Linked DNA regions of Homo sapiens: all the other regions are linked to region 2. Evidence: promoter capture Hi-C in 16 types of primary human blood cells and fetal thymus (Javierre and others, 2016). All regions are on one chromosome and are shown on one strand. Each heading gives the region's core, a stretch centred on a gene start or on the middle of the fragment in contact. The rest is flanking DNA. Distances are from core to core; before and after follow the strand shown. Region 1 has its middle 4.3 kb from the start of LINC02322. Region 2 holds the start of DAAM1 (dishevelled associated activator of morphogenesis 1). Region 3 overlaps LOC101927702 (a long non-coding RNA gene).

Evidence for each region. The method cuts DNA at HindIII sites, captures the fragments that hold promoters and counts their contacts. A CHiCAGO score of 5 or more calls a contact.
Region 1: a contact is called between a fragment that was not itself captured here and the fragment with the promoter of DAAM1 in region 2, in 1 of 17 cell types (naive CD8 T cells). The highest score is 7.8, in naive CD8 T cells.
Region 3: a contact is called between a fragment that was not itself captured here and the fragment with the promoter of DAAM1 in region 2, in 1 of 17 cell types (naive CD8 T cells). The highest score is 5.0, in naive CD8 T cells.

What each region holds. Positions count from the first base shown.
Region 1 is chr14:60,325,961-60,329,018 of GRCh38, forward strand. No RefSeq gene overlaps it. Among named protein-coding and RNA genes, the nearest start is that of LINC02322, 4.3 kb to the left of the region's middle. RefSeq lists an enhancer at 1,789-1,848 and a silencer at 1,959-2,268. The HindIII fragment of the contact is 1,908 bases long and covers 711-2,618 here.
Region 2 is chr14:59,187,131-59,190,134 of GRCh38, forward strand. DAAM1 (dishevelled associated activator of morphogenesis 1) reads left to right here and starts at 1,537. Exons shown (of 25, transcript NM_001270520.2): 1 at 1,537-1,638. RefSeq lists enhancers at 1,040-1,279, 2,060-2,819, 2,530-2,689 and silencers at 1,750-1,889, 1,950-2,169. The HindIII fragment of the contact is 5,514 bases long and covers 1-3,004 here.
Region 3 is chr14:60,239,615-60,242,980 of GRCh38, forward strand. LOC101927702 (a long non-coding RNA gene) reads right to left here. Exons shown (of 3, transcript NR_188027.1): 2 at 3,149-3,256; 3 at 512-840. Among named protein-coding and RNA genes, the nearest start is that of PPM1A, 7.9 kb to the right of the region's middle. The HindIII fragment of the contact is 370 bases long and covers 1,715-2,084 here.

The DNA.
Region 1 (3,058 bases), core at 415-2,914, 1.1 Mb after region 2:
CCACAATCTGCATTTTAACAAACTTCCCAGGTGGTGCCAATGACATTAAAGTTGCAGCAGCACTGCTCAGGAGCTGTGCATTGGAATCACCTGGAGTACTTGAAAAACTATTGATGCTCAGGTCCCAACCACAAAGACTCCCCCAACTTAACTGGCATTGGGGTTTTAAAAAATTTCTCCAGGTCATTGTAACTAATGCACAAGGTGAGAACTTGTGCTCAAGAGACATTCTTTCTTCTTCCTCCACTTATTTCTACAATTGCTTTTCTCTTAAAGTAAAAATCTCAAGCTACAGTCAAAGTTCATTTCATGTCCATTTTATAGATAATGCCACACAATGTGAAGATTCATTCTGAATTTAAAAAATAACCTTTACAAATATCTTCTGAACCTTTGCCAAGGTCCCCACATCCCTCTTTTATTGTGAGGTCCAGAACTAGACACAGTCCTCCAGTACAGCCCTCAACATCACTGAACAGCAGCACAAGGGATGTTTGTATTCTTCTGAATGAAAGGTACTGTTATAAAGAAAGTCAGAACATTCGAAGGGGGTGGGGGCGGCTTTGATGGCCAAGCAAAAGATTTCCTCATGCCTACACTCAGTCTGGGAGTGAATGAGCCAGTTACATAAGGAGAAAATCCTCCTTCCTAGTGTTGAGCTTTCCTAATTGGAGGACTAAATGTGTCATTATTTAACTAAATAATTAATAAGCTTTCTTGTAATTCATGGATGACTAAACAGATAAACTCACCTGTACCAAACTTTCAGAGAGAGTTCCACTGATTTAATAAATTTGGTTCATGTCATCAGCATAAAAGTCATCTGAACCTTGAGCCTCAAAGACCAGTGACCTCCAAACTTGACAACTCAACTTATAAGAATCAACTCGGCTGCTTACTAAACATATATAGATGTCTGAGCAAAGGTATTTGTGGTTTTTAAAAAACTACATCAATTCTTCTCAAACTTTAATGGGGGTGGTGATGTGGTGAGGGCAGGTCTTGTAAAAAATTTAGACTCCCATCAACAGGTCTGAGTAGGGCCTGAGATTCTGCATTCCTAACGATCTCAAAAGTGATACCGTGCCGCTACTTCATGGACCACACTTTTAGTGGCAAGGCCCTAGACAATTTTGATAATCAGCCAGTTTGGGAACCAGAACTTGAGGCATCATAAATGTTACCTGAAATATGAAAAAGCTAATCTCCGCCTCAATGTTTATCAGCAGCTCAGGGTGCATCAGTGAGTGTTACACAGACGGATACAAAATGTGGGTGGGCAAATTTAATTTCAAACGGTGGAAGAAACCTTATTGAGAATGTTTAATTATGTTCATGCTCCGCTAATACGAGAATAGAGTGGACTCTTAAGTTCCTTTATTTCTCTAGTGATCTATTCTTTAGAGTTCACCAGCAAACACAAAGGCGGGAGGAACCGTTACTTTAAATTCATATTATTTTAGCTGATGTATCTGGAGCACAGTGATAAATTAATCATGACGTCTGGTCTGATTCACAATCATGTTCTAGCCTAATTTACACTTTGCATTTGCAGAACTGAAATGCGATGCATTAAAATGGTCACACACCACGGATTTTTCTCCTCGCTGCACCCATGGAGGGAGGCGCTGTCTCCGCCTTTTCCTGTAAGCACCTGCCCGGGGCCCAAGCCCACAGTGGATGGCTCGTCCAGCTCAGAGAGCGCCCAGGACGCAGTGAGGAAGCAGAATTGGGCGCTCAAGACTCAGACCCGGACTGATGAGCTAAGACTGCTTGCAAGAGGGAGTGGGAGTCGTTAAAAAAATATCCTCGTGGCTTAATGACCAAGGCGGGTTTATTCTCAAGGAAGGGGGAGCGGCGTGGTGGTGTTACTAAACATAACAGATGGCAGCTGTCTGCGGCTATATAGGGCGCGCTGACAAATCCCTCTGGATGGCCACGCGGCGCTGGGCTGCGGGGCCTGGGTGCACTTCGCGCCTGGCTCGGAGGGCGCCGCCTGCGGGAGGACCTCCGGGAGCCGAGCTGCCTCCCCGCAAACCCGGCCCGGGCCCACGCGGGCTCAGGGCGCCAGGCGGGGTGCGCCGAGGTGCAGCTCCCCGGCCCTAGGCTTCGCTGGGGTGGGGGTCGAGGCCTCTCCGCGGGTGGCTCCCTCCACCCTGCCGCCCCGCCTCGCGGCTGGGAGTTGCCCGGGAGCTGTGAATTCACTAGACCAGCATTCACCCAGGGCCTGCGGGGGCTGTGAAAGGATGGGAGGACTCGGCTCCCCAACCCACCTTTACAAAGCCGAAGTGTGGCTGGTGAGGTACCCGACACGCACACACTGCACCGTGATACTGAACCATGCCTGAGTGTGCATTTTGTGCGAAATGGGTCTTAGCCATGATTTCCATGTGGTGAACATCTTTTCCAAACCCCGGATTGAAACACGATTATCAGGTCAATAACATTTTTTCTATGATTTGGAGATTGATTCAGATGGGCAAAATCTTACAAAGTTAATAATCTTATAAAAATCTTACATAATAATCTTAAGTCGCTTTTAGAGAGACATTTAAAAAATATGTCTATTGAAAATAATAAAATTCAGTGAAATTGGACAGGACTGTGGCAGTTGGGGAAGCTTCCTGGAAGATCGGGCAGAAAGAGAGCTTGCCAGTTTGGGCTTGGGATGGGCAAAAACAGAGGGGATTGAGAGTTCTGGGGACTCAATAACGTACATCACTGTGATTTTCAAGCGGCAAATTTCTTTAGAAAGGTAAGGCCAGACAGACTAATGGGAACTGTCCAAGGAGAGGGAACAGAGGAACCCTCTGCACTTTTGGGGCTATGGTCTCTGAAATCGGCTGCAAGGACCACCACCTAGGGGTCGTGTGGTGCATGTCATGTGCTTGGCTTTCTGCAGCAGTGTTGGAGAGTTCCATGGGAAAAGCCTCCTCTCCCCACCCCTCATCATCTCCTCGACCCCTTTCTCAACAAATGTCAGGGACTAAGGCTTCCTTATTTTCTCCTCAATCACCTTGCAGTGCTTTTCACTGAAGGTGAGAAAGGTTGAGGTTCA
Region 2 (3,004 bases), core at 287-2,786:
TCGGGGGAGAAAAGTGGGTCTTGTCTATAAAGAACAGGCTTGTTAAAAGAACATCAGAATTCATCGCTAAACATCTCTCTGAGCAAAACAAAGCATTTCCTCTCCCCTGAGATCCTCAACTAATTTCATAAATATTTTTTCACTTGAACCCAACTTAGTGTTGCAGAATGAAAGGAGAAAATAAATGATAAGAGTTCCACCAACACTTCAGTAGGGAGTTGTCTGAAATCTTAATTGTGAACCTTTTTTTCACAAGATGCACAGTCTTCTAGAGATTTTGCTAGTGGAACGGGTGTGTGAGCTGATCATTATATGGAATTGAGACACATCAAATGCCATTAAAATTTACATTTACAACTCGAGTAACTAAATGCATTGATTCTTTTCATATTAAAAGACACTTGGTATTCACTGAATAATGAAAAATGCCACGGAAAAAATTATGTATTAACAATACAACCTGCCTAAAGGGTCAGAATTCTGCTACACACCTTTTGCTTACCTTTAAATAAATATTTAGGTGTGTTAAGAGCAGGGCAATTCTTGAACGGCACGATGTTGTTTGGTTTAATGTCTTTATAAAAATATTTGAAAAGGTATGGAAAATGAGGTGAGAGTGTTGTGGATTTAAAAACATGTGTATACATAGATACACAATTATTAAAACTTTAGACAAGGACGTTTTCTTCCTGGGAGTGGAGAGCCACCAGCGCGGGAAGTCTGCTGCAGGGATGAACAAAAGCATGGCTGCACGATAGTATTATCTTTGCAGCAGCAGCAGGCGCCCTGACGGAGGGTTGCGGCGACTGTCTAGTCTATCACACCGCACTTCTGGTAGTGACAACCTCCGTTATTCTGTCAGCTCAGCCGACTAAGTGGTTCCCCGCGTTCTGCCTGGTCACCTTGTCTCCGTTAAACGGGAAGCAGAAAAGAGAAAGGTGAATTGAGGGGGTACAAGGAGATTCCTCCGCCTTGGGACCGGCGTCGCCCCATCCTCTGGAAGTGTTGAGCGGGGAGAATTCGAGGACCGTATTTAACCCAGAAAACAGTAAGCCCTCTGAATTAGCTGCTACGCCTGGGGAAGGCAGAAAAGTCTTAATCGTCCCTTCCCAGCAGGGACCAAGAAAGACCAGTTAGAGCGAGCCTGGCCGGACCACGCGAGCCCCGGACCTCTCCGATCCTTCAGAGCCCGCGCCGGGCAAAGTAGAGGTCAAGTCAACACACACGACCGCAGGGCAGCCCTCCCACTCTCCCGTGCGGTCCGCAGCTCGGCTTCGGAACGACCACCGCTAACACTGCAAGGCTGTAAGGCTGGGAGGGGGCGGGTCCTGAAGGGGGCGGGAATAAGAGGCGGGGCAGAAGGGCGGAGGAGTGTGTCGGGAGATGTAGTTCCGCGAGTCCCGACAGCAAAGCTGTCCCGGCTCCGCTAATAGATTGGGACCACTACTCCCAGGAGTCTGCGCGCCCGACCGGAGCGTCCATGCGCAGTGGGAGCCACTTTGTATCCTATCAGGCGAGGAGAGGGTGATGTCACCTGCGAGTTAGTAACCTACGAGCGGCTGTGAAGGAAACTGTTTAACCGGATCCCATTGTACCCAGAGTGCAGAGCCGCCTTTCCAGCATGCAGGGGCTGCTCAGGTAAGGGGGACGCTCCTCCTTGCCCGCCGCACTCATTCATTAAGTGGCACTGCTCAGTGGTGCGGGGGTGGGCGTGCTTCCGTGGGCTGGGCGCTGGGTTCGCGGCGCGCCCTCCTGCTGCCTCCCCGGAGCTCCCGGGCCAGTAGGTAAATATTAAACCCGTCCTTCAGGTTGGGTCTGGGTGGGAACGGGACCGAGACAGCTCTCGGCTGCCTAGCTGGGGGTGGGAAAATGGCTGCAGCGCAACGCAAACCGAGGCAGCAGGGAGGAAGACGCCCCCAAGGACTGGGGTCCCTCCCTTTCTTTCTAAGGCGCCCGGCTGGCCGAGGAGCTGGCGGGGTAACACTCGCCGCCTTGCTGAAGGCTCCCCGGGGCTGGGGCCGCGGGTACTGCAGCGGCGTCCGCGAGCTCCCGGCCCGGCGGCTCCGAGAGGGAGAACCCCGAGGCAGGCTTGGTGGACACGGCGGTGGCGACAGGGAAGGAGGGACTCGTGTACCCGTTCGCGTCCGAGCAGAGCCCCCAGTGCCCCTGGCACCCTCACTTCCAGCCCCATTCGAAAGGGACGGAGCGCCTGTAATTCAGACTAAGTTGGACCTAAATGTTTCAAAACAGAGAGAAGGGAAATCGGGCGTTGCGGAGGGAGAGCAGGGTGTTGGCGGCCGGGGAGGCTGCGCCGCCTGCGGACCCGGTTGTGAGGCACCGCAGAGGGCTTTTGCCGCCCGTCCCTCTCGGGAGGGCGCATCTCAGTCTCCACGGTCCCTTGGTGTAGAGCACCTGGGCTGGGGCGAAGCGCCTGCCCTGAAGCCCTGGGCCAGGAGGTGGTAGCGCGGGGGTGGAGGTGTCGGATAATCTAATGATTAGGCTCGCTGTGGGGCAGGAGGGCTGGATAATCGGGTTTACCCAGCTGGTTCTGAAAGCCAACTGCTTGTGATCGGCTTGCCCTCTGAGTGGAGACGTGCAGGAGGCCCAGAGCTCTCAGTCCTCTGGATGTTCTTTGCCTTTCCTAGTACCTTCATTTGTTCGTTTACTCATTCATCAAACCCTGCTAAGGTCTCAAGTTGTTCACGGCCTGGCTTTGCGGAGCTACCTCTCGCCCCATAACATATTTAGTGATGCCTGAACTCCATTCCCCTCTCCTTCATCTCCACTTTCTGGAGAGCATCAAGAGCAAATGCCACCGTGACCGTTTTGCTGGTAGTTTCTTGAGATTCGAGCAGGACCCAGTGAATCGAAGCGGAGTTGCCTGCAAGATGAATCCCGTTGCCATGGCGACTCCTGCCTTCGGAATCTTAGCCGCTGCCACTGCTGTTTCGATTCGATGTGGCTCTGCGGGCAGCTGGGAGGGAGTGGCTAGTGGGTGTGGTCA
Region 3 (3,366 bases), core at 650-3,149, 1.1 Mb after region 2:
AGCCCATATAAAATATGGGATGGATAATGTCAAATCATTTACAATGTATTATTAAAAATACATGGGCCAGGTGCAGTGGCTCACGTCTGTAATCCCAACATTTTGGGAGGCCAAGGCGGGTGGAGGTCAGGAGATTGAGACCATCCTGGCCAACATAGTGAAACCCCGTCTCTACTACAAAAAATACAAAAAGTAGCCGGGGCGTGGTGGTGGGCGCCTGTAATCCCAGCTACTGGGGAGGCTGAGGCAGGAGAATCGCTTGAACCCGAGAGGTGGAGGTTGCAGTGAGCCGAAATCGTGCCACTGCACTCCAGCCTGGTGACAGAGGGAGACTCCATCTAAATATATATATATATATACACACATATATGTATACATATATATACATGTATATACACATATACATATATACATATATACTTATATATACATATATACATATATACTTATATATACATATATACATATATATATACACACACACACACTATGTGCTTAAAAGTAAGTTATGTTTTCTTTTTGTCAACTTTTATTTTTAAGTTCCGGGGTACATGTGCAGGATGTCAAGGTTTGTTACATAGGTAAATGTGTGCCATGGTGGTTTGCCGCACAGATCAACCCATCACCCAGGTATTAAGCCCAGCACCCATTAGCTGTTCTTCTTGATGCTCTCCCTGCACCTCACAGGCCCCAGAGTGTGTTGTTCCCCTTCATATGTCCATGTGTTCTGCTCGTTCAGCTCTCACTTATAAGTGGGAACATGCAGTGCTTGGTTTTCTGTTCCTGCGTTAGTGTGCTGAGGATGACAGCTTCCAGCTCCATTCCAGAGTCTACGAAGAACTTAAACAAATATACAAGAAAAAAAAATTTTAAAGTGAGCAAAGGGCATGAACATTTTCTTATGTATGTACACATTATTGGGTCAGGCAACGTGGTAGGTGCATTGTGTACAGGATGTCATTTATTTCTGCAAGGTAGTTGATATACCCTGTTCCAGAAGAGGAAACCAAGTCTGAGAGAGGTTAAATAACTAGTCTACAGCCTAGGCAAAAGAGAGATGATCTTTGAACTCCAATTCGTGCAGTGGTCAAGGGGTATCCTCTTTGATTGCAACATGTTTAGAATGTTTTAAGGTTATTATTTTTCTGAATGCCTTCAAATGTGACAAGTATGCTCTACTGATCCCCATTGTGTCAGACCCAGCCTGATCTAACATTTATATTACCAGCCTGGTCCCAGTCAAAGGAGCTGGAGTTTTCAGATTCTGGTGCTAACCTGAATTCTACCTACCACTTCTTTACAAAGAGGCCTCTGCCGTGTTTGTACCAGCGGCAGGATGACTTGAAGCTCTCCATGGACATGCGGTGGGGGTGGAGGTGTTGATGGATATTGTCTTGGCTTTTGCCTTATGTGGGATTTTTAAGAAATGTGCAGGAAAAAAAAAACAGGAAAGTGTATTAGGAGAAGGCAGGATAGAAGTTTTCCTCACGTGGAGAGAGCAGGAGAATGGAGGAAGTGACTGCTGGAAGCAAAACTCTAAGAAAAAACCAATTTTACTTGGAGCTTAAAAAAGATTTTGCTGTGTAATGTGCATTGTAACTCTTCTCCCATCTCCCCAAGGCATCTTTGGTAAAGATGTCATTGTTGGGCTTTTTGTTTTCCATGGCACAATGCACTGAAAGGGCCTCAAGGGGAAAGCAAGTCATCTCTGGAAAGCTTAGCCAGAATTTGCAACAGAAAGAGTGGGAATTTTGGAATCAGGTCCTAGGCTTGCAAAAGAGCTCTTTTTCACAGCCTTAGCTTCCTCCTTTGTAAAATGGAAAAAAAAATAGTTTCTTTTTTGCAAAGTTGTTGTGAGAATTAAATAACACTCATGAGGGGCATTGTATGGAGCTTGGCACATTCTAGGCCCTCTTTTTATATTGAACTAATATGATCTTCTCTGTAATTCCCATGAATTAATTCCAGTTCTATTTTGCAAAACATTGATTCTTTAACCTTTTTCATGTAATGGTGCTCCAGTTTGTCTAGATCCTTCAAGAAGAGAAAATGCATATCAACATCTTTGTATCTAGTTGCTCTCAAGCTTAAAATGATGTCATTTTTCAATTATTGCTTTTATTATACAGTAAAAACATATTTAGAAGAGACTCAAGATAAATATTAAAAGTTAAGCTAGTTACTGAACAAATTTCTTAAATATTTACGAAAAATAAGATCAACACACATTTGACCATGGCAGCTTTTCTAAAGGCAAAGGATCTAATTTGGTGATTAACTAACCATATTGAGCACTCATTAGGTGTCAGGGATGTACCAGTTCTTCTACTGTATTTGGGTGTTTTTAATTATGAATAACCAAATACAAAAATCAAAGTAGTTTAAACAATGAGGAGCATTTATTATCACTCTTAAAAATAAATTCCCAAGGTGGGCAATTGCACGGATGGCTCAATGGCTTTACAATGTGAAAGATCCAGCCACTTGCTATCAATTCTTTTCTCTACATTGCCTTGGTTCTTTGCAAGATAACCTTGAAATTCCAGGCTCACATATAGAAATAACAACATATGGCTGAGGAAGGCATTTTCTCTCCTGTGATTCTTCTTATTAGGGAAGAAAACCTCTCTACCCCCTCAAGACTTCTCAATTTCCTTTATCCAGAATTGGGCTACCTCACTATGTCCCCAGGCAGTGCTTCTCAATTTTTTCACACCATGACACAAATACAAAGATAACGTTTTTGTGACACAGAGGGGTACCTGGGTAATGTTGCTTGTGGCCAGTCATACCATCCCAGGGCTTCAGCAGCTCAGCCTCACTTGAATGTCCCAAGGGCTTAAGGGATCCATACCTTATCACATCTATGACCCATCTGAGACATACCAGGGTATGCTGGCACATAGATTGGTATGCTCTGCTCTAAGCTACAAGGGAGGGTGAGAGAGCATGCATCCATATACATGCTCTAGTGAGAGAAGGATCTGCCAACGAGGAGGCTCTGCCAAGTAGTAGGAAGTGGTGGGGCAACCAACCGCATCAGTCATCTTTTCAAGGGTGCCTTCATCTATTCTAATTTTCACAACACATTTTAGGAGGAAGTATTCTGTGGAGGATAAAACCAAGGCTTATAATTTAAATGACTTGCCTGAGGTCACAGAACCAGTGAGTGGTTCAATTGACACAGCAGATGCAGATCCAGGTGTGTGCTGGGAAATGTTTAACAACCACCTTTCCAAATGTAGTTCCAACATGGCTATTGGTTAATATTTTCATTTAAGATAAAAATAAAACAACAAAAATGTATGTTAGAGCTTATTAGTCAATGATGTGACTTCATTGCTAAATTGAATGTTTTTATGCTAT